Regions from separate parts of the Homo sapiens genome. Here regions 2, 3, 4, 5, 6 and 7 are each linked to region 1. Evidence: promoter capture Hi-C in 16 types of primary human blood cells and fetal thymus (Javierre and others, 2016). All regions are on one chromosome and are shown on one strand. The core of a region is centred on a gene start or on the middle of the fragment in contact, and the rest is flanking DNA. Distances in the headings are between cores, read along the strand shown.

Region 1 (2,893 bases), core at 147-2,646:
AAGTAGGCACTGAAGGAAAATCCCTACTGCTGTCATCAAAGCCACATTTTCCTCCAAGACCGGCTTTGACTTGACTGAATTTTATTTCGAATGTAAAGATGCAGGCTGGGCGCAGTGGGTCAAGCCTGTAATCCCAGCACTTTGGGAGTCCAAGGTGGGAGGAACCTAGGACTTCGAAAACAGCTTGGGCTACGTAGGGAGACCTGTCTCTTAAAAACAAACAAAAAAAATTAAGAGTGGTGGCCTGCACCTGTATAGTCTCAGCTACTGGGGAGGCTGAGGCTGGAAGATCACTTGAGCCAGGGAGGTGGAGGCTGCAGCCAGCTGCAACTCTGCCACTGCACTCCAGCCTGGGCTATTGGGCGACAGAGCAAGATCCTGTCTCAAAAAAGGTAAAGTAGGTCATATCTTAATAAAAGTGCAGATTAATCACTAGGTACCAATTCATTTATCAGTGTTACACACCAAGAACAAAAGCTCTTCCTAAACTTAGGGGGAGAATTTCAGGGCTTTAGGAATTTGAAACCGTCTTCACAGTTCCTTCCCAGTCTTATTTAGGCCAGCTGTAGGCCACAGGCTAGAGCTTGAAGCCGTCCACCAATATCTCACTCACAGGACTGTCCTTAATGCACGAATACCTTTCCTCGAGCAAACTGCTTTTCCCTCTTAGACCTTGTAGCCAGATCATTTTACCGGCAAAAGTCTCAGACATCTCCTGTGAATAAAAGCTTACATTCTTTCCTTGCCAGTAGAAAAAAGGGGAACACGTAAGCATACGTGGCAAATTGCAAAGAGGGATGCATTGTACGAGCTGGTCAGATTGTTAATGAGGGCAATCCAAACAGAAGAGATTTGAGTGCTAAGGGAATACGGATCAGTGATTAAAAGGTGTTGTGAGAGGGAGAAATCTTTGTAAACTATGGCGCTCTTTAGTATTACTATTGGGGGGATCTAGGCAGGGGAAGAAGCAGGTGAAAGCGTTTTAGGCTTCGGCCTCCTCTTGTCGTCCTTAGCTGTCCCAGGCCAGGGCCATTCTATACGCCGAGGCGTAGTCAACTCTGCTGCCCTAGACTTGCCCACTGAACCCATGCCCCAGACTCACCTTTACCCGCTGCCCGGAAGCCAAGTCGCTACCACCTGCTTGAGCAACTCCCACCGCGCAGGCTCAGAAGTTAACGCTCTCCCGCCTTTCCCCGCTGCGCTACCTTCTGAGCAGGCGCAGCGTCTCCGATCCGTTCCCTCGCCGCGGCTCGACCCCGGTGAGAGCAAAGGCCGCTCCGCGCGTCGCGTTTTTGACCCATGACGGCGGCGCGCAGTCTGACGCGACAGATTGCGTCACTTCCGCCCCCTCCTGGGAGGCGGCGCTGGGCCGGTGGCAAGCCCCCGGAGGGAGCCGCAGTAGTACGACGGAAGATGGCGACGAGCGGCGGCGAAGAGGCGGCGGCAGCGGCTCCGGCGCCGGGGACCCCGGCAACGGGGGCGGACACGACCCCGGGCTGGGAGGTGGCTGTGCGGCCCCTGCTGTCCGCGTCCTACTCCGCCTTCGAGATGAAGGAGTTGCCGCAGCTGGTGGCCTCAGTCATCGAGAGGTACCGGGCGGCGGCTCTGGCGGGCGACGCTGTTGTGGGGGGAGGGGATTTCGAGCCGGATCGTCTGGACCCGCTTTCCGGGCCGCCCCCTGCCCCCTTGAGGATCCCCGCCACAGCCACGGCTTCGGGGTCCCGGGCCCGGGGAGACTGGCTTGCCTGGGTTTCCCTCCGCCAACGCATGTAAATCACCTCTACCTCAGTTTCCCCTCTCGAGCAAAACTTTAGCGGCCTCCCTGCGGGAGGGCGTGGCCGGACATGGTTGAGAGTGAGATGCATTCGCCCTCTTAAGGGAATGTTCACGGGGCTGCCCCTTGGGTCAAGTCACAGATGAGTTTGCATTTCTCGCCCGCACTCATCCTCCTAGCCTGGGCCGGAGCGGAGCCGTACGGTATAATTTAATAACGGTCTCCCCGCGGTGCTGTAATCAGTGGGGGCACGTGCTATTTCTGTGACTGAAGCCACTAGCTACATTGATGACCTCTTTTTACGTTGCACTCCTTGTGCATTCCTACTGTATCGGTCTTTGATTAAAAACATTTCAGTGTGTGTCTGAGAGATCATTTTCCCAGAGGATGTGTGGTGTGTGTGTTCTCTTGCTGCCTCCCATCCCCCTCGCATTAAAATATCATCACATTCTTTTACAAACGGTACTATCTGTTGGTTTCCTTTTGTGTGTTTTTGTCTTTTTGCACAGCGATTCTTAGCTAGTGACAGTTATGTAGGTACAAAGATGGTGATCTCAGAGTGCCTGCCTTTTCCTGACATACTGTGCTCAGAGCAGTCTTTCATTAGTTTAATGGTAGACTTTTGCTTTTAAAGCCAGACTGACTTTCATTTTTCTAGCCATACCTCATTTCAGCAACTCCCTGCAATTGTTAACTGGGTCATTTTAGCTTCACGATGACAAGGGTATATCTAGCTGCTATCCAGAGGTTAAAAATTGCTATTTGTTACTCAAAGGAGGCCCACGGTTTGACAAATTGTTTTTGTGCTTTTTCTTGTTGTAGACTTGTAATCCTTTGGATGCAGAGTTTTTAACAAATTATAATAAAATAATGGTTGAGTTTGGTAACTTCACAGTCAGCTTTACAGACGGATTTTGCTATCTAATCATCAGGCCAGGAATGTTCTGAAGATGTAAACAGGTTTCAAATATACTACTTTCAAATTACGTGGCTGCTTTTTGTTTTAAACATTTGGATTGGCAGTATTTTTCCTGACTCATACTCATGTTACGTAGAATCAGTAACGTTCCAGTCTTTTTAGAGCATTTGCTTTTATGTTTTTCTGGACATGAGCTGGAT
Region 2 (2,893 bases), core at 164-2,663, 500 kb before region 1:
TTGAGGGTTTACCCAAATGGCCTTGCCCTCCAGGCAGGGCTAAGCCCAGAGTCCCATACTCATGGCTCCATCTCAGGGACTCCAGGGAGGGGCAGGCTTTCTAGGATGTGATCAGACCCCACTCCCAGGGCGCTCCCTCCGTCTCTAATGGGAATGGCATTGTAGGAAGCTCTTGGGGTAGGGTTCTGCCAGGGAGATGCCCGGGGCTTACATGGTCACCACAGCACCACCTGGTGGCAGCTCTCTGGTGTGCACACTTTCATAGAGGAAAAGGCCACTTCACAGCCATTTCTGCAGCCATCCCTCCTCCAATCCCAGCCCAGGGGGCGTGTCCAGAGGGTGCTTGCTGGGGAGAGTTACCGACTGCCTTTCCTTGAGGGCTCGTGCAGAACTTGGCAGCTGCTCCTATATCCTGAGAAATTTTCATGTCGTCAGTTATATCCGTCTTGTTTTCATTTGACTTGATAAGCATTTATTAGGCACCAAATATACAAAGAGTGGAAGGAACTAATATTTATCAGATACTCGCTGTGACAGGTGATTCTAGACATCATCTCACAGAACCTTCCCAATGAAAACCAGTCTCTAAAAACAATTGTTTTTAATTAGCCATGACTGGTAACCTGTGCCTGTAATCCCAGCAACTTGGGAGGCTGAGGTGGAAGGATCACTTGAGCCCAGGAGTTCAAGGCTGCAGTGAGCTATGATTGTGCCACTGTACTACAGCCTGGGTTATATACAGTGAGACCCTGTCTCTAACATGAATAAATAAATAATTTGTTTTGAGACAGTCTCATTCTGTCACCCAGGATGGAGTACAGTGACACGAACACCACCCTCCGCAGCCTCGACCCCCTCCGGGCTGAAGTGATCCCACCTCAGCACCCCCAAGTAGCTGGAACTGTAGGTGTGCCTGGCTAATTTTCAAATTCTTTTTGTAGAGGTGGGGACTTCCTACATTGCCCAGGCTGGTCTCATGCTCCTGGCTCAAGTGATCCTGCCACCTCGGCCTCCAAAAGTGCTGGGGTTACATGCATGAGCCACTGCACCTGGCCATACTTTTTATTTTTTATTTATTTATTTATTTATTTTGAGATGAAGTTTCACTCTTGTCACCCAGGCTGGAGTGCAGTGGCGCGATCTGGGCTTACTGCAACCTCCACCTCCTGGGTTCAAGCGATTCTCCTCCCTCAGCTTCCTGAGTAACTGGAATTACAGGTGCCCACCACCACGCCCAGCTAATTTTTGTATTTTTAATAGAGACGGGGTTTCACCATGTTGGTCAGGCTGGTCCCGAACTCCTGGCCTCAGGTGACCCGCTCGCCTCAGCCACCCAAAGTGGTGGGATTACAGGCGTGAGCCACTGCACCCAGCCTAAATGATTTTTTAAAAGAGAAAACTGCTCTGGAGAAAATAGGTTCTCAATCTAGGCTACACAGATTCCCATGTATGAGTAGCTGTAAAGATGAGTTTTCAATCCAGTCTTATAAAACCACCATGAAGAAAGGTTGCAGAAACAACACAATCAGAATTAGACCGTTAGTGCCCAGCAGAATGGTCTGAAGAAGCCCTCCCCACCCGCTAAGTATGTTACAGTTTTTAAAGACATAAATTTAAACTTTGAAAATAAGTGGAAGGAACAAGACATTGAAAAAAAGAATACGGAGATCTGAAAATAAATCAAATGTAACTTGTAGAAATAAAAAAATAGAGTCATTACAATGAATACTGGATAAATTAAAGTGGTTTAGACAAAACTAAAGAGAAAAATAATGAACTGGCTGGGTGTGGTGGCTCACACCTGTAATCCCAGCACTTTGGGAGGCCAAGGTGGGTGGATCAGTTGAGGCCAGGAGTTTGAGACCACGCTGGCCAACATGGTGAAAACCCGTTTCTACTAAAAATATAAAAATTAGTTAGATGTGGTGGTGTATGCCTGTAATCCCAACTACTTGGGAGGCTGAGGCACAAGAGTCACTTGAACCTGGGAGGTAGAAGTTGCAGTGAGCTGAGATCACACCACTGCACTCCAGTCTGGGTGACAGAGAGAGACTCTGTCTCAAAAATAATAATAATAATAATGAACTGGAAGATTGATTTGAAGAAATTAACCACAATGCATCATGGAGAGATAAAGAGATGGAAAATAGGAATTAAATTAAAGTTTGACATTTGCTTATAGAAATCCCCAAGAAAAAGAGAATAGGGGAGAGAGATAATTTATTGGCTGAGAATTTTCCAGAATGAATCTCTGCGCTTCAAGGAGCATGTTTTTTTTGTTTTTGTTGTTGTTGTTGTTGTTGTTGATATATTTTTAGAGACAGGGTCTTACTCTGTCATCCAGGCTGGAGTGCAGTGGTACAACCATAGCTCACTACAGCCTTGAACTCCTGGGCTCAAGCCATCCTCCTGCCTCAACCTCCTGAGTAGCTGGGACCACAGGTGCACACCACCATGCCCACCTGGATCTTGCCTAAAGGATTCTACCTGGGCTCACTCCTCCAGTTCTTTATGTGGATCCTGCCTTAGCCCAGGACTCCCAAAACCACATCCCCAAAAGCCAGCCACTTGCCAACAGCCTGCCATCATTCCCAGTGTTTCCCCCACCCCTTCCCCTTCTTCCTGGGTGAGAATTTGGAGAAAGATTCATCCTGAACTAGTGTCTTAATGGATTTAACCTGTTGCCCACTACACATGAGCCATCAGTATGTTGCAGTGTTTCAGACATATTGTGTACATCTGTGGTAGACTGATGGCAAAAAACGGCCATAATTCCCACCCCTGCCTGTATCCACATACTTTACAATGTGACCTTGAAACCCCTCCCATCAAGAAGTGTAGTCTGTTTCCCCACCCCTTGAATCTGGGCTGGCCTTGTGACTTGCATTGGCCC
Region 3 (2,893 bases), core at 150-2,649, 410 kb before region 1:
TTACAGATAGTTAACACAATCTACCTTACCATTGATGATAAACATTCAAGCAGGCTCCTTAATTCCAATCGGCTAGCACATGAGTATATATCTGAACGTACATACGCATCTGAAGGCACAGGGGAGACTTTAGCACCAAAGCAGTGATGACATCACTGAAGGCCAAAGAGCAATTAGTATCTGAGAGTGGTGCCACAATGACACACATGGTTTACTCATTACAAACAGTCTAAAGAATTCTTCAGGGCTCAGGAGAAATCTTTTTCTTCTGAAGGAAAGAGAAATATATATTCTGTACATACTTTGACATATTTTCCATGTAGAAGATATGGAGCCTGGAAATCATGCTGACAGTTGGAATAAGCCATTCCTAATCCCATGCCAGAACCGAAGGCTAATGGCCACATTCTTCCTAGTGAGCAAAAAAGGGAAAATCCCAATAGGGAATTATTAAGAGAAGATAAAGCTCCCCATCCTCTTAAATACATTTACTTAGGGTTCAATAAATATTCAACGTGCATCATACTAATGACTATAATAACCATACATTTTTATCAATGTTTCACAATGGCCCCAAAAAAGAGGTGTAAATTAGTGAAGTTATTAATTTAGCAAATACTTGTTAAGTGCCTATGCTGATAAGTTTGAGGAAAATAAGTAGTAAAGGCCAGGCGCGGTGGCTCACAACTGTAATCCCCGCACTCTGGGAGGCGTAGGCGGGCGGATCACGAGGTCAGGAGATCGAGACCATCTTAGCCAACATGGTGAAACCCTGTCTCTACTAAAATACAAAAAAATTAGCCAGGCATGGTGGCGTGTGCCTGTAATCCCAGCTACTTGGGAGGCTGAGGCAGGGGAATCGCTTGAACCAGGGAGGCGGAGGTTGCAGTGAGCTGAGATCGCACCACTGCACTCCAGCCTGGCGACAGAGCAAGACTCCGTTTCAAAAAAAAAAAAAAAAAAAAGTAGTAAAATATGAAAACACTAGATAAACCTTTTAACTTCTCTATATCAGTTCTAATCATCTGCTCAGTTTAACTAATATCTTAGCCAGTAAGATGCATGAATTCTAAAAAGATGTAAGCATTTTACCGATATTTACATGCTTTGATTGTAGTAGTAAGTCATGGGGTTTATTTAAGCCACTCTGTAAGTGATTCTTTCATATCAGCACTATGTGTTAATTATGATTCTCTAGTCAAGTATTTCCCACTGGTTCTTCACGGAAAGAGGTCAAAAGGATCCCTCTGGCATCTATTCGGTATCCAAACTTCAGAAGTTCTTCCACAGAATGAAAAGAATATTGCCTGCCCTTTGCTTAGGATAATTTTTGACCAAGAAGTATGTGTATTTCTGGTCTACTTGTTTCTATTACCAGCAGGATTCTCATTTTCAATTCCTCTAGAAAAAATCACAATTAATTAGAAATATCTGAGCGTGTAGACTTGGCCAAATGACTCACTGGCATCAAGTACAGGCTTTTGCAATGATATCATATTTAGGATAACAGGCACCCTGCCTCAGTGCCCAGGGGAATGCTGGAGATGCCCAACCCATTTTGACCTCTTTCAAGTCCACATTCTTTATCTAATTCATTTTATAATGGGCTACCTAACCCCATAAATGGATGGGTTGGCAACCCACAAATTGATGGGTTCCAATGTGTCCTCTGGAAGTGTCCCTGCTACGTATATGTATACACTATGACATTATGTTGAAAAGACAGAGTGACACTTACTTTTAAAGAAGGTAAGTGAGAAAACAATTCCTAATCCAAAACCAGTACCTACAAAGAGGGAGAAAAAACATGCTAAATCTCATAGCAGTAACTTCACAAAGATAACATTAACATTTCTTAAATGTGAACATCATTAAACAGATTTTTTTTCATAATTTGGTAGAGAATTAATTTTCTAATTTCTAACCGTCTTTATTTGTCAGAGGTTTTACAGATGCCTTTGGTTCTCCTGCCCAACATGAAATAAAAACTTGACTCCCTGTTCTCTCTAGACAAGTTGCGGGGTGTGGGGCAGGGGAACAAGCCAGGAGACTGTTCTAGAGTGGACCCTCTCTACACTGCTGGCAAGGAGCCTCCAGCATCCTGGGCTCTCCTACCCACCTCAAAGAGGGATACCACAGCCAAAACATGAGATAGTGCCAACAGGACGCTCCCCTTGTCACCTCAGCACTTGGAGTGATGGCTACTTTTTGAGGAAGATAAAAAGCAGTAATCCAGAACAATTCCTAAAGGCTGAGCTATCACACAAGCCAGAATATCTAGGCAGAGGAAAAAGACGGCCCTCCAGAGCCCCAGATGAAGAAAATGACTTGCCCAAGGATATTGTTTAGTTAGTTGCGGAACAGTCATCTGGGCTCAAGTCTGCCAGACTCCAATGCTACTGTACCTGCCATGTCCAGATGTTGGATTCCTCTCCAGTTTCAACCCCTAAACAATTACTACCCCTCAAGGGAAATTGGAATGTCAAGATTTCTACTGCCAGTGAAATACAGCCAAAATATGACTGTGCTCCCCATACAGCTCAGAATGCTAGACAACCTGGGTAGTAACAAGTCTTCACAAAGCCAAAAGGGCCTGTTAGATTCATTCCCAGACCAATCCTACCGCACAAGTCACAGACACAAGAAGTTGACCTGGTAGGTGTGATTCAAGAACCTCAGGGACATGGAAGCCATTGATACTGATATTCCTTGGCAAGACTCTGCTGTTGCTTGGTTTATAAAATGGTACAGGGTTCAATTTTAAGGCGACTTGCCTCACTCCTTGCAGCTGGAAGATGAGTAAGACAGTAAATTGGTACTAGAAAATGAGGTAAAGGATTTGGACTAGCTTACAGATTCCAAACCAGGCAACGGAATGGGGAGATAAGCCAGT
Region 4 (2,893 bases), core at 157-2,656, 390 kb before region 1:
GGGCCCGGGCGGCTCGCCCTGGCCGGAGGGGCCGGAAAAGGCCGAGAGGCCTGACCTCCCGTGGGGCTTCCCTTCCTTCCTCCTGGGCAGCGCAGCCTGGAGCCAGCAGCTCTGCACCGGCCGGGCCTGCTGGGGCGAAAAGCCCCTTACCTATCTTCACGACCGCATCCGCCAGACACCGGTCCCACTTCCTGCCGAGCTCCGACTCAGACATGTTCCCCACCCGCGCCTCCAGCTTTCCTCTCGGCCGGCCCCCGCGCTCCGACCCCTGAAAGTCTCGCGAGAGCTGGAAACAAGTCCCAGGTCAGGAAGGCAGGCGCAGACGCTCCAGATATCGCGAGATGATCCGCTGCTTCCATCCCTTCCGGTTTTTTCAGTTGGTCGTCAAGGTGACGAGTTGTCTGGAGGCTCGAGGTGACCCTGACCTTGGGGCTGCGCCTATGGGTTTGCGAGGCTGACAGTTTCCTAGGCGTCACCCCAAGCCGTGACCAGGCCTTTCCTCCTCACCAAAGTGCGACATTGGCCCTGGAAATCCCCCGGGCAAGAGAGGGTACAGACTTGATTTATTCATTCATTAACGTACTCACCTTCACTTTCCCTACTCACTCTCTCATTCGTTCACTGGTTTCTTGCATTGGAATTCCCGCCTGAACCACTAACACCGAAACTGCTCTGGGAAAGATTACCTACCGCCAAATCAAATGGACTCTTTTCTGACCTCTGTACCGCATTCCACACAATTTTCCCTCCCTCTGATCCTCCCTGGCTCCTCTATTCGTTTCACTCCCGGTAACGCCACTCTTTCCTCTTCTCCCCATCTGCTGTTGTCTGTTGGTTTCCTCCAGGGCTGCCTTTTCTCTGCCAGCTGTTTAAGGACTGTTGGTTCGCAAGCTTCCATCAATTCTCTTTTCACTGTACAGACTCTCCCTGAGTAATTGCAAACACTGCCAAATTATATCTCCAGGTAAAACGTCTACCTCAGGCCTCCTATCCATGTATATATTTACACACCCACCCACACACACACACACATACACATACATACACAGGGTGCCCTCTGTATCTGTGGGTTTTGCATCCATGGATTTAACCAACCATGGACCAGAAACATTTTTGAATCAAATAAAAAATAATGCAAAATTTAAAATACAGTACAACTATTTACCTAGGATTTACATTGTATTAGGTATTATAAGTAACCTAGAGATGATTTAAAGTATATGGGAGCCAGCGCAGTGGCATGCGACCGTAGTCCCAGCTACTTGGGAGGCTGAGATGGGAGGATTGCTTGAGACTAGGAGTTCGACTTCATCTCTTTAAAAAAAAATAAGTAATTTTAAAAAAGGATATGTAAGCATGTGTGTAGGTTGTATGCAAATACCACGCCATTTTATATATGGGACTTGAGCATCCTGCATTTTGGTAACTGCGAGATCCTGAAACCAAATGCCCACAGCTATCAAGAGAGATTGTATATCCAGCCTACTGGCTAGTGTCATTGATTTTAGTCTTCCATCCTACCAACAAATAGAAATCTGACCACGTTATGCCTCTGATTAGAAGCTGTCAATGAAGGCCGAGAGCAGTGGCTCACACCTGTAATCCCAACACTCTGGGAGGCTGAGGCGGGAGGATTGTTTGAGGCCAGTAGTTCAAGACCAGCCTAGGCAGCATAGTGAGACTCCTGTCTCTACAAAAAATTTAAAAAATTAGCCAGGCTAATGTGATGTGTGCCTTTAGTCCCAGCTACTTAGGAGGCTGAGGTAGGAGGATCACTTGAGCCTGGGAAGTGGAGGCTACACTGAGCCATGTTCATGCCACTGCACTCCAGCCTGGGCATCAGAGTGATACCCTATCACAAAAGAAAAAAAAAAAAAGCTGTCAATGACTCCCATTCATACACTGGATCTATCCAAGCTTCAACACTGCACTGATTCTAGGAAGCCTAGTCAGATAGAGCTTAGAGCTGCCTTCCCCTTCTCATTGTCCCACTACCCTGCCTACCCGCATTGATTTCTCTATCTAGTACTGAAACATCTGGTTGTAGATATTATCTGCTAGTAGAACTAGAAGTTGCCCCTTCGTCTTCATACTTCCAGTCAGAGCACAATGCCTTGGATAGTAGGGTCTTCTATGAAATATTTGTTGAACTGAATTGAATTTATTCACCTATTTATTTGTTTATTTATTTATTGAGAGAGAGTCGCGCTCTGTTGCCCAGGCTGGAGTGCAGTGGCACGATCTCGGCTCACTGCAACCTCTGCCTACTGGGTTTGAGCAATTCTTCTGCCTCAGCCTCCAAAATAGCTGGGATTACAGGCGCCCACCACCACGCCTGGCTAACTTTTTGTATTTTTTTAGTAGAGATGGGGTTTCGCCATATTGGCCAGGCTGGTCTTGACTCCTGGCCTCAAGTGATCCACCCACCTTGGCCTCCCAAAGTGCTGGGATTACAGGCATCGTTCAACTATTTATTTGCAACTATGACAGCAAAACTCTGTTGTATCAGATCTTGCTACGACAGCCTCTTCCTTCAAGATAACTTCTATGACCACCCTTCCCTTCTCCTAGTTCTCTATTTTTTTAAATTATTCTTTCTTTTTTTTTTTTTTTTTGAGACAGAGTCTTGCTCTGTCACCCAGGCTGGAGTGCAGTGGCATGATCTTGGCTCACTGCAACCTCTGCCTCCCAGGTTCAAGAGATTCTCCTGTCTCAGCCACCTGAGTAGTTGGGATTACAAGCACGTGCCACCACCCCCAGCTAATTTTTGTATTTTTAGTAGAGATGGGGTTTCACCATGTTGGCCAAGCTGGTCTTGAACTCCTGACCTCAGGTGAACCACCCACCTCAGCCTCCCAAAGTGCTGGGATTACAGGCTTGAGCCATCATGCCC
Region 5 (2,893 bases), core at 254-2,753, 370 kb before region 1:
CCACCTAACATTTAGAGGCTAGGGAGATCAGGGTAAATCAGCAAAGAAAAATGAGAAGGAAGGAACATGGACGGGAGGAAAACCAAGAAAAAATGGTCTCCTGGAAGCCAAATGAAGTGTTTCAAGAAAGACAACATGATTAACTGGGCCAAATGAAAGAGGGTGGAGAAGTGGCCATTGGTCTTAACATCAGAAAGGTAATTTTAGAGACATTGACAAGGACGGTCTCCATGGAGTAGTTGGAGCCAAAGTCCAAATGCAGTGTGTTTGAGAGAGACTAGGAGGAGAGGGGCTGGAGGCAGCAAGTGCACACAATCTTTTCTAGAAGTTTATTTCCAAAGAGGGACGAAAAAGGGCAATAGTTTGAGAAGGGGTGGGTTTGACAGTGGGTTTTTTTAGAATGGGAGAACTTGCTCATGTTTGTATGTGGATGGGAATGATTCAGTAAAGAGGGTAAAACTGATGATGCAAGAAGAGAGAGGAGGGCCAGGCACTGTGGCTCATGCCTGTAATCCCAGCACCTTGGGAGGCCGAGGTGGGTGGATCACTTGAGGTCAGGAGTTCGAGACCAGCCTGGCCAACATGGTGACACCCCGTCTCTACTAATAATACAAAAATGAGCTGAGCGTGGTGGCAAGTGCCTGTAATCCCAGCTACTTGGGAGGCTGAGGCAGGAGAATCACTTGAACCCAGAAGGCAGAGGCTGCAGTGAGCTGAGATCGCACCACTGCACTCCAGCCTGGGCGATAGAGGAAGACTCTGTCTCAAAAAAACAAACAAACAAACAAAAAAAGGATAAAAGAGGCCGGGCCTGGTGGCTCACGCCTGTAATCCCAGCACTTTGGGAGGCCAAGGTGGGTGGATCATGAGGTCAAGAGTTTGAGACCAGCCTGGCCAACATGGTGAAACCCCATCTCTACTAAAAATACAAAAATTAGCCGGGCATGGTGGTGCATGCTTGTAGTCCCAGCTACTTGGGAGGCTGAGGAAGGAGAATGGCTTGAACCTGGGAGGTGGAGGTTGCAGTGAGCCGAGATCGTGCCACTGCACTCCAGCCTGGGCGACAGAGTGAGACTCCATCTCAAAAAATAAATAAATAAAATAAAAGAGAAAAGAAATGCCGAGACTTTCTATTCCAGAGGGCTAGAAGTAGAAGGTTTATTTCTAAGAAAAGGGAGAATGCTAGACATCTGGAATTTCCTCTCCATGGATGCCTGGGTCTCTGGGGCCCAACTTTTAAAGTTGAACACTTATTTTTTGATGTGGTTAGAATCCCTGAGCCCAAAATATGTTCCCAAGAGTATTTAATTAAATGGGAATCTGGTGTGCATCTGTGACTAATTAATGCTGATCAAAAACAATTAAATATTAAATGTCAGTGGTTTCTTACCTGGTTTCTTACCAATAATTGCAAAGGGCTGAATGCAATTATCAAGTCCTGACCTCCATAAGAGCCAAGTTCACATTAAAATAATGAACGACTGAAACAGAGCCAATGAAAGAGCAGATTTTGTGAATGTTTTAAAAATTGAAGCAATGAAATGCTAATCATCAGGGCAAAGGTATTAGTCAGAGTTCTCTTCCTCAGCCTATGGATGTAGAAGGGTCCTCTCTCCAAGAGAAAGAACGGAAGCCCCGCTTAGCAATGTAGCAAACATTTCTAACAGTTCTCCTTATAGTAAAATGTTTTCATGTGCTGATAACTGTTATAGGATATAAATATATATAATGATGTAATTCACTCAACAAGTATTTGATGAGGACTTGATTTGGCCAGGTTCTATGCTAAGCTCTGGGAATAAAGAAACACTGAAGAACTCTCTATCTTCAAGGTCTAGTCTAAATACCCTAACACCCACCATTATCAGAACCACCTGGTGTGTGTTGCCCTTTCCCTCTCTGGTTCAATTAGTATGATTAGGGGCTGCTGTTGTCTCCTGGTTTCCTAAATAATATACATATTTTTAAATTTATTGTACTGCTTATTTTGGAGTGATTTTAAAAGATGGTAGCAGAAATGCCTTTATTGTGCCATCTTGAAGCTGGCAGGCCCCCACGCCCCTCGTGGTCCTGGTGAAAGGTGAGACACATCAAGTGGATCCCACAGATGAACTGCTTCTTCCCTTTGGGAGCAATGTGGGGGATTGAAGAACAAAGACCAAAGGCAGTGGCGTGGATCCATATGGTTGTTGAGAGCCAGAAGAATGAGTCAAGCCCAGCAGATCATCCAGCAAAGACATGGGTGGAGGATAGAAACCGTAATGTAAAGCCAAAACAAAGTCAGCTGAGAACCAAGAAATTTATGAACAAGGAGTAGCAGAGTGGAAAAACGAGGTAGTCTGGGAGGATTCCAGAGACAAACTGGGGATGTTGTGGCAACTTTATTTTTTTATTTTTTTGAAATGAAATCTCACTCTGTCACCCAGACTGGAGTGCAGTGGTGCAATCTCGGCTCACTGCAATCTCTGCCTCCCGGGTTCAAGCAATTCTCCTGCCTCAGTTTCCCGAGTAGCTGGGGCTACATGCGCGCGCTACCACGCCCGACTATTTTTTTTTATTTTTTGTATTTTTAGTAGAGATGGGGTTTTGCCATGTTGACCAGGCTGGTCTTGAACTCCTGGCCTCAGGTGATCCTCCTGACTCGGCCTCCCAAAGTGCTGGGATTACAGGCATGAGCCACAGTTCTGGGTCTCTTGTGGCAACTTTAAATCTCACCCCTGCGCTGACTTGAATATGCTGCTCAGGTCATTTCAGGGGATTGTGGTGGTCGAACGGCCTGATGCTATATCCTCCACTGGCCATTTCTAAAGTGAGGAGTAAGCCCCCTTCAGGAAAGCCTGAGTTCAGAGCCTTTGTAAACTGTAAAGCTATAGGAAGTACTCATTTGATGTTC
Region 6 (2,893 bases), core at 286-2,785, 320 kb after region 1:
CCAGCCCTAGGAAGGAAAGAAGTGAAATTTCTCCCTGCTTCATTGGTCATGCTAGCGTTCACCACTGCCGGGCATTAGGTTTTGAAGGGAAGACAGGGGTTAAAGAAAGACACACACACAGAGAGAGGGCAGCTGAAACAGCAACACCAGTATATTGCAGAAACCTGAGGAAGTGGGGGACCAGCTTAATGCCAGGGCCCACCGCTGCTTACAGGCTGAGGTACTCATCGGTATGGGTGAGACGGGTCTGGGCAGTATGGCTTGCTGCCTGGCAGGATATTGATAAGATGTTGTTATGATCAGGTGGTTTGGCCCTCTCCGGTGGGATGTCATCGTGGTGTTCCTTGTACCTTTACCCAGCAAGATATGATAGGGATGGTTTTTTTTTTTCTGAGACGGAGTCTCGCTCTGTCGCCCAGGCTGGAGTGCAGTGGTGCGATCTCGGCTCACTGCAAGCTCCGCCTCCCAGGTTCATGCCATTCTCCTGCCTCAGCCTCCCCAGTAGCTGGGATTACAGGCATCCGCCACCACGCCCAGCTAATTTTTTGTATTTTTAGTAGAGAGAGGGTTTCACCATGTTAGCCAGGATGGTCTCGATCTCCTGACCTTGTGATCCGCCCGCCTTGGCCTCCCAAAGTGCTGGGATCACAGGTGTGAGCCACCGCGCCCGGCCAACAGGGAAGTTTCTTTAGGTGGGCCTTCGTCCGCCTTGCGGTCAGGCGGCTGAGCCGGATGGTTCTCATGGCCTGAGCTCCTGTGAAATGTTTCACTTGGCCCGAGGTCTGCAAAATAGCGGGGAGCTGACAAAATGGTGCGGTTTGGACCAACACCAGGTTGTGTTTATAAATGTTTGTTGAGGATCTTCCTATTTAGATTAGTAAATCTGGGGCTTAGGAAACAATTGCTCTGTCCATGATGGCTTCGGGGCAGGGCGGAAGTCCCAAGCATGTCACAACACCGGTGCATTCTTTTGGGCCTCACCTGGTTTTGTTGCCCATAGTCGCAGCCTCATACTGGACCAAAGAATTTTCATCCATGATCCCCTTTGGTTCTCCTGTCCATGCTAAGAGACAGGGAGGGCAGTCCCCATTTCCTAGATGAAGAGACTTAGGGAAGGAAGTGAGCTTACCTGGGGCCCCACAGCTAGTAGGTGGCAGAGCCAGGATTCGAACCCATGTCTCTCTGACCACAAAGGTCCGTGCTTTCCTGGAAAGACCCTGGGGTCTATGCCTTTCTCCTGGACTCTGAGCCTTCTGGAGAAGGAGCCATGTCTTACTCATGGTATAGCGGGTACACCAGCACCCTTAACAGGGAGCAACCTGTGGGCCGGGCACTGGGGAGGGTTTCATGGGAGCGGGGGAGGGGGGACAGCAGGCGTGTCCAGGACTTTCCTGGAAAACCGGCTCTGAGTCCAGTCCTCTTCATCCTTATCCTGGCACCTCCCTCCCGGGCAAGGACCTCACTCTTCTCTCCTTTCAGCCTTTTAACCATGGACATAAGGTGGCCAAGTTCTGTTATGCAGACAAGGTGAGTGAGCCTGTGTGCCTGGTGACCCGGGGTTAGGGTTGCTGCCCCTGCTCTGCCCTGCCAGCTGCTGATATGGCGGGGGCAGGGGGCATCAGTTGCTGTGTCCTTCTTTGGCCATGGTGGGTAGGTGGGCAGGGGGTGGCTGACACTGAGGGAGTCCCTGGGTGATGTCTTTGACTGGGCCAGGCATACAAAGGTTAACTTGAGCCAAACACAAGCTGCCTCAGCCAGGGCTGAGACATTCCCAGACATGCCCATTGTGGTGGGGCAGACCTTGGACTGGGGAGGAGGTGGATTCTGGAAGGCTGAGTCAGGGCAATTGGAGACACCATTGATGGAAAGCTAGGCCAAGAATTGGCACTGGAAAGGGCCAGCAGGAGGGGCTGGGGTGGCTGGGGGTCCAGGAACTGGCATTGTGTGGCGATGAGGGCAGTTGGGGTCTGGGAGGCCAGCAGCAGAGCCGTGTCTCAGGCTCCAGTTGACCTCAAGTTTCTGGATGGTGGGTTAAGGGGCACCAGGTCCCAAGAATAAGGTAAGGTTTTGATTAGACCATGAGAGAAAGTGGAGCCAGTGTAACAGCTGCGGGACTCAGTGCCAAGGCCTCGGAGAGCTGACCAACCTGGCCGGGCCCTTCAGGCTTCAGACTGGCAGCCACTACAGGCTCTGATGGGACGCTGTTGTTGGCAGCTATGGTGGCAGGGGGCTGAGGGCCCAGGGAGACAGGCATTGTCCCCGGATGGAAGAGAGTGGCCTCCCAGGTCTCTCCTCCCTCGCTCACTCCCCAGGGCCTTTCCCGCTGCAGGTGGCAGTCCCCAACCTCTCCCTCTCCCTTTAGAGCCTGCTCAACAAAGCCATTGAGGCTGCCCTGGCTGCCCGGAAAGAGTGGGACCTGAAGCCTATTGCAGACCGGGCCCAGATCTTCCTGAAGGCGGCAGACATGCTGAGTGGGCCGCGCAGGGCTGAGATCCTCGCCAAGACCATGGTGGGACAGGTGAGGTGCTGGTGGGCCCGGGTGGGTGGGGCGGGGTGGGGTGGGAGTCAGGTGTGCCCTACCCATGGCAGCAGACATCAGCTGAAGCGCTTCTGGGTCCTAAGCCCTTTTGGGGACCCAGAGATGTCCTCAAGGGACAAGGCCTAGGAGCTGGGATGGATGATCACAGATTATTAGGCGAGACAGATTGTGCAGAGCCCATGTGTCCTGCCTCGGAAATGTCCCCTCTCCTCCATCCCTCTGTCCTCGCTCCTAGGCCTTTGTCATGCTTTGCCTGGACTGGTGGTGGCCTGCACTGTCTCCCTGCCTCCTAGCTTGGTCAGCCCCTCGCCGCCCTCAGAGTGGTCTTTCCAACACCTCCAGGATGTTACTCCT
Region 7 (2,893 bases), core at 101-2,600, 310 kb after region 1:
TCTTGGGAGTGAGGACTTGGGGCAGGTGGGTAGGAGAGGGAAAGCCAGAGTGTGATGGGCCTGCCTCCTGGGCTGGTTCCTGGGTCCGGCCTGCCTGCCTGCCTGCCTGCCTCTCCACCACATGCTTTTTTCAGTTAATGTCAGTGGGCCCTGCTTGTCCCCTCACCATGAGCCCACAGCTTGCCAAGAAAGACCCCAACGCTCGCTGGGGCAGCACCAGTCCTAGCTGGGACGAATTGGTCCATCCTTTGTAAAGCTGTAAATACTTAATTTTGACTTTCTATTTCTAAGCCCAGTGTCATATTGACACTGGTATTTTAGAATTTTCTCAGATGGGCTCTCCTGCGCTGCCCTCTGTCTCCTGTTTTTGGGGGTTTTATACAAACAGAGGATTGGGGAGGGATAGGAAGACTAGCATCCTTTTGGCTCCCTGGTTGGTTGTGAAATACACACACACACACACACACACACACACACACTCGCACTCCTCTGAGACTCCGAACAGAGAAAAAAATTATTGGCAAATCAACACATTTTTCTTTCTCGTCTTGAGAAAATGTCTTGAGGTCCCTGAAGGGCCAAATCCATCGTGGACTAACTCTGTGGGTAGAGCTCAGATGACCTAGGGAGAATTAAACCACTTAAGCTTGGAGTGGGAGGAGAGGGGGTGGGGTGGGGGAGAATATAAGATGTAACTTAAGCTAAATGTAATCTATTTATAAAGCAAGAGACTCTCATCTATTTTTATGAAAGGAAGGGTTTTTTAATCTAGGGTAGGCAGTTGTGGTAGCCCAGCATTTTCCTGTGGACGAGACATGGTGCATGTTGTTGCTGGATTGAATGGAACCCATTCCTGTCCCCCGGCCTCGTCTTCTGTCCTCACTTTTGGTCATCCACACCCATGAGCAGCTTCAGCAGAGTGTAGGTCCCACTTCACCCCATTCTCCTCTCCTCTGACCCCTCAGCTCCTTGGAAGTCTTGGGGTGGGGATCTGAGGGGGTGGGTGGGCTGCAGGAAATTCAGAAATGTGGTGGGTGGGGGAAGGGACAAGGCGCATTAGGGAGGGAACAAGCTGGGCTCTGGGGATAGGCTCTGATTAATTAGTTACTCTGACTCTGGTCTGCCGAGATCCATTTCCAACCCAGTTGCGTTGGGAGAGGGTTGGGAGGCAGCAGAGCATGGGTGACAGTGGGAGCACACGACTTCCTTGGAGCCTGGGCCTTTGCGGGTCCCAGGTGGTCAGGCAGCTGGAGCAGAAGTGGAAATGGCTTAAGATGCTCATAGCCCAGCCCCGGCTGTGTCTACTCCAGGCCAAGCCTGGGCTGCAGTCCTTGCTATGTTCCCCCCAGGGCCCTGGGGGGAGGGATCAGGGTGCTGGGGGTTTCCTAGGACAGGGGTCTTCCCCCTTGAGACACCAAGCTCTGGCTCTAGAAGAGCTCTCTCCTGGAGTGGGGAGTCTGGAGGGGACTGGGTGGGTGCAGGTAAAGCCAGATTCTCTCTGGAAGGGAATTTTCTATGAATGGATGATTTCCAGGCTCAGGGTGGGCTGTGTGTTAGTTCTGAGCAAATCCCTCACCAAGACCCTTCCCTCCCAAGCCCTCAAAGAAATGAGGCAAAGCCCTTCCCTGCAAGACCCCTTGTGGATGTTTTTGCATCTACCTGATTTTTAGCCCCACCCAGGGAGACTTTATACCCCATGATCCTGCCCCACCGTTGCTGTTGTCTGCCAGCTGGGTCTAGCATCACAGGGAAGGGGGGGATTTATACTCATGGAAAGACTACTGATCCTACCGGAAACCAACCTGTTTACTGTACTGTTGTAAATATCATGCCCTTTATATCCTGTATATTGGCTTCTTTTAAATAAAGTGAAATGTCTTAGAACTGATGGTGCTTTTTTTTGTTTTTGTTTTTAAACAGAAGATGAATCTGGTGTTGGGGGAGGGGTAGGAGGACGGAAGGCCACAGAAACCCTCAAACTCATTAGTTAATTAGCCATAAAATAGGGGATTTCATATCACCTGTTACATTTGTAGCTCACAATAAAAGCTTTGGAAGATGACAAAGCAGGAATCATTACACACATTTTACTGAAGGGGAAGAGAGGACATGAGACATCACAGGCTCAGTAACTGGCTTGGCCTGGTTTGGAACTGATGTCCTTTTAACCACAAAGCCCCCATTTTTCCAGGCTCTCCAACGTGCCCACAGGAGGTCACCTTCCCAGGCTCTGGATTTGACAGTAACCAATGTTCTAGTTTTTCTTGTCAATGGGCATGTTCAGGGCAACATTGCCCAAATGTGAACTGAGCCCACCTGTCTAGGGTTTTCTCCAAAGGTGAAGACAAATAGCCGCCACCAATTCCAATTTGCTTTTTGCCATTCCTAATACTTGGCATTTAGGTAATCTCCCTCTCCTACTCTTCATTTAAATGTTTACATTCTCCCAAAGTACCTCAAATGGTGTAATCTGGAGAAAAATAAGTGGCTTAAGATCACGGGGGCTTTGTGAGTTGGGTACTATTACTTCCGTTTTACAGATGAGGAAACTGAGGCCCGGAAAGGATATGTAGTCTGCCTAGTGCCCTGCTTGAGGAACCAAAATCAGCATGGGAACTGACTCCTAAGCAGGTGCGCGGTTCATGCTGCTGGAAGAAATATAAACAAATTAGAACAGAGAGTAAGGAAACGTAACATTACTTTAGGAATAGATTGGGTCCCTGAGACCTCGTCATCAGAGAAGACTTCAGAATCCAAGTTTTAAATAGCATTCTAGTGTTTACCAAGCACACAACATTTTGCAAAGAAAGCTGAAATTTTTACTTGGGGGTAAAAGGCTCAGGAACAACTGGTTTTGCGGCCAAAGGCTTTAAATGAAAAGCTAAGCGTTGGC

The links. The method cuts DNA at HindIII sites, captures the fragments that hold promoters and counts their contacts. A CHiCAGO score of 5 or more calls a contact.
Region 2: a contact is called between a fragment that was not itself captured here and the fragment with the promoter of UBR4 in region 1, in 3 of 17 cell types (total CD4 T cells, naive CD8 T cells and non-activated CD4 T cells). The highest score is 6.0, in total CD4 T cells.
Region 3: a contact is called between a fragment that was not itself captured here and the fragment with the promoter of UBR4 in region 1, in 13 of 17 cell types (activated CD4 T cells, neutrophils, naive CD8 T cells and 10 more). The highest score is 8.9, in activated CD4 T cells.
Region 4: a contact is called between a fragment that was not itself captured here and the fragment with the promoter of UBR4 in region 1, in 16 of 17 cell types (fetal thymus, total B cells, total CD8 T cells and 13 more). The highest score is 27.5, in fetal thymus.
Region 5: a fragment that was not itself captured here is called in contact with the fragment with the promoter of UBR4 in region 1 in 4 of 17 cell types (neutrophils, naive CD8 T cells, total B cells and 1 more); the score reaches 7.8 in neutrophils.
Region 6: a contact is called between a fragment that was not itself captured here and the fragment with the promoter of UBR4 in region 1, in 8 of 17 cell types (fetal thymus, megakaryocytes, naive CD8 T cells and 5 more). The highest score is 9.8, in fetal thymus.
Region 7: a fragment that was not itself captured here is called in contact with the fragment with the promoter of UBR4 in region 1 in 17 of 17 cell types (fetal thymus, megakaryocytes, erythroblasts and 14 more); the score reaches 26.7 in fetal thymus.

Annotation. Positions count from the first base shown.
Region 1 is chr1:19,208,769-19,211,661 of GRCh38, reverse strand. It overlaps UBR4 (ubiquitin protein ligase E3 component n-recognin 4), which reads left to right and starts at 1,396. Exons shown (of 106, transcript NM_020765.3): 1 at 1,396-1,589. The coding sequence starts at 1,414. It overlaps EMC1-AS1 (EMC1 antisense RNA 1), which reads right to left and starts at 1,276. Exons shown (of 2, transcript NR_135114.1): 1 at 1,103-1,276. RefSeq lists silencers at 312-381, 1,407-1,726 and enhancers at 1,007-1,056, 1,307-1,356. The HindIII fragment of the contact is 5,774 bases long and covers 731-2,893 here.
Region 2 is chr1:19,713,123-19,716,015 of GRCh38, reverse strand. The region is part of intron 13 of TMCO4 (transmembrane and coiled-coil domains 4); the gene reads left to right. Among named protein-coding and RNA genes, the nearest start is that of HTR6, 50 kb to the right of the region's middle. The HindIII fragment of the contact is 6,575 bases long and covers 1-2,893 here.
Region 3 is chr1:19,620,993-19,623,885 of GRCh38, reverse strand. All of the region lies in intron 1 of MICOS10-NBL1 (MICOS10-NBL1 readthrough), which reads right to left. It overlaps MICOS10 (mitochondrial contact site and cristae organizing system subunit 10), which reads right to left. Exons shown (of 4, transcript NM_001032363.4): 2 at 1,739-1,786; 3 at 303-412. Among named protein-coding and RNA genes, the nearest start is that of NBL1, 22 kb to the left of the region's middle. The HindIII fragment of the contact is 6,275 bases long and covers 1-2,893 here.
Region 4 is chr1:19,594,367-19,597,259 of GRCh38, reverse strand. It overlaps MICOS10-NBL1 (MICOS10-NBL1 readthrough), which reads right to left and starts at 281. Exons shown (of 4, transcript NM_001204089.2): 1 at 151-281. MICOS10 (mitochondrial contact site and cristae organizing system subunit 10) reads right to left here and starts at 281. Exons shown (of 4, transcript NM_001032363.4): 1 at 151-281. The coding sequence starts at 214. MICOS10-DT (MICOS10 divergent transcript) reads left to right here and starts at 428. Exons shown (of 2, transcript NR_135054.1): 1 at 428-550. RefSeq lists a silencer at 1-68 and an enhancer at 189-488. The HindIII fragment of the contact is 1,026 bases long and covers 894-1,919 here.
Region 5 is chr1:19,576,537-19,579,429 of GRCh38, reverse strand. No RefSeq gene overlaps it. Among named protein-coding and RNA genes, the nearest start is that of MICOS10-DT, 19 kb to the left of the region's middle. The HindIII fragment of the contact is 3,214 bases long and covers 1-2,893 here.
Region 6 is chr1:18,885,098-18,887,990 of GRCh38, reverse strand. ALDH4A1 (aldehyde dehydrogenase 4 family member A1) reads left to right here. Exons shown (of 15, transcript NM_003748.4): 4 at 1,480-1,527; 5 at 2,363-2,518. Among named protein-coding and RNA genes, the nearest start is that of MIR4695, 3.3 kb to the right of the region's middle. The HindIII fragment of the contact is 3,570 bases long and covers 1-2,893 here.
Region 7 is chr1:18,903,275-18,906,167 of GRCh38, reverse strand. IFFO2 (intermediate filament family orphan 2) reads left to right here. Exons shown (of 9, transcript NM_001136265.2): 9 at 1-1,888. It overlaps LOC124903866 (a long non-coding RNA gene), which reads right to left. Exons shown (of 2, transcript XR_007065519.1): 2 at 2,797-2,893. Among named protein-coding and RNA genes, the nearest start is that of ALDH4A1, 2.2 kb to the right of the region's middle. RefSeq lists an enhancer at 2,560-2,893. The HindIII fragment of the contact is 1,403 bases long and covers 649-2,051 here.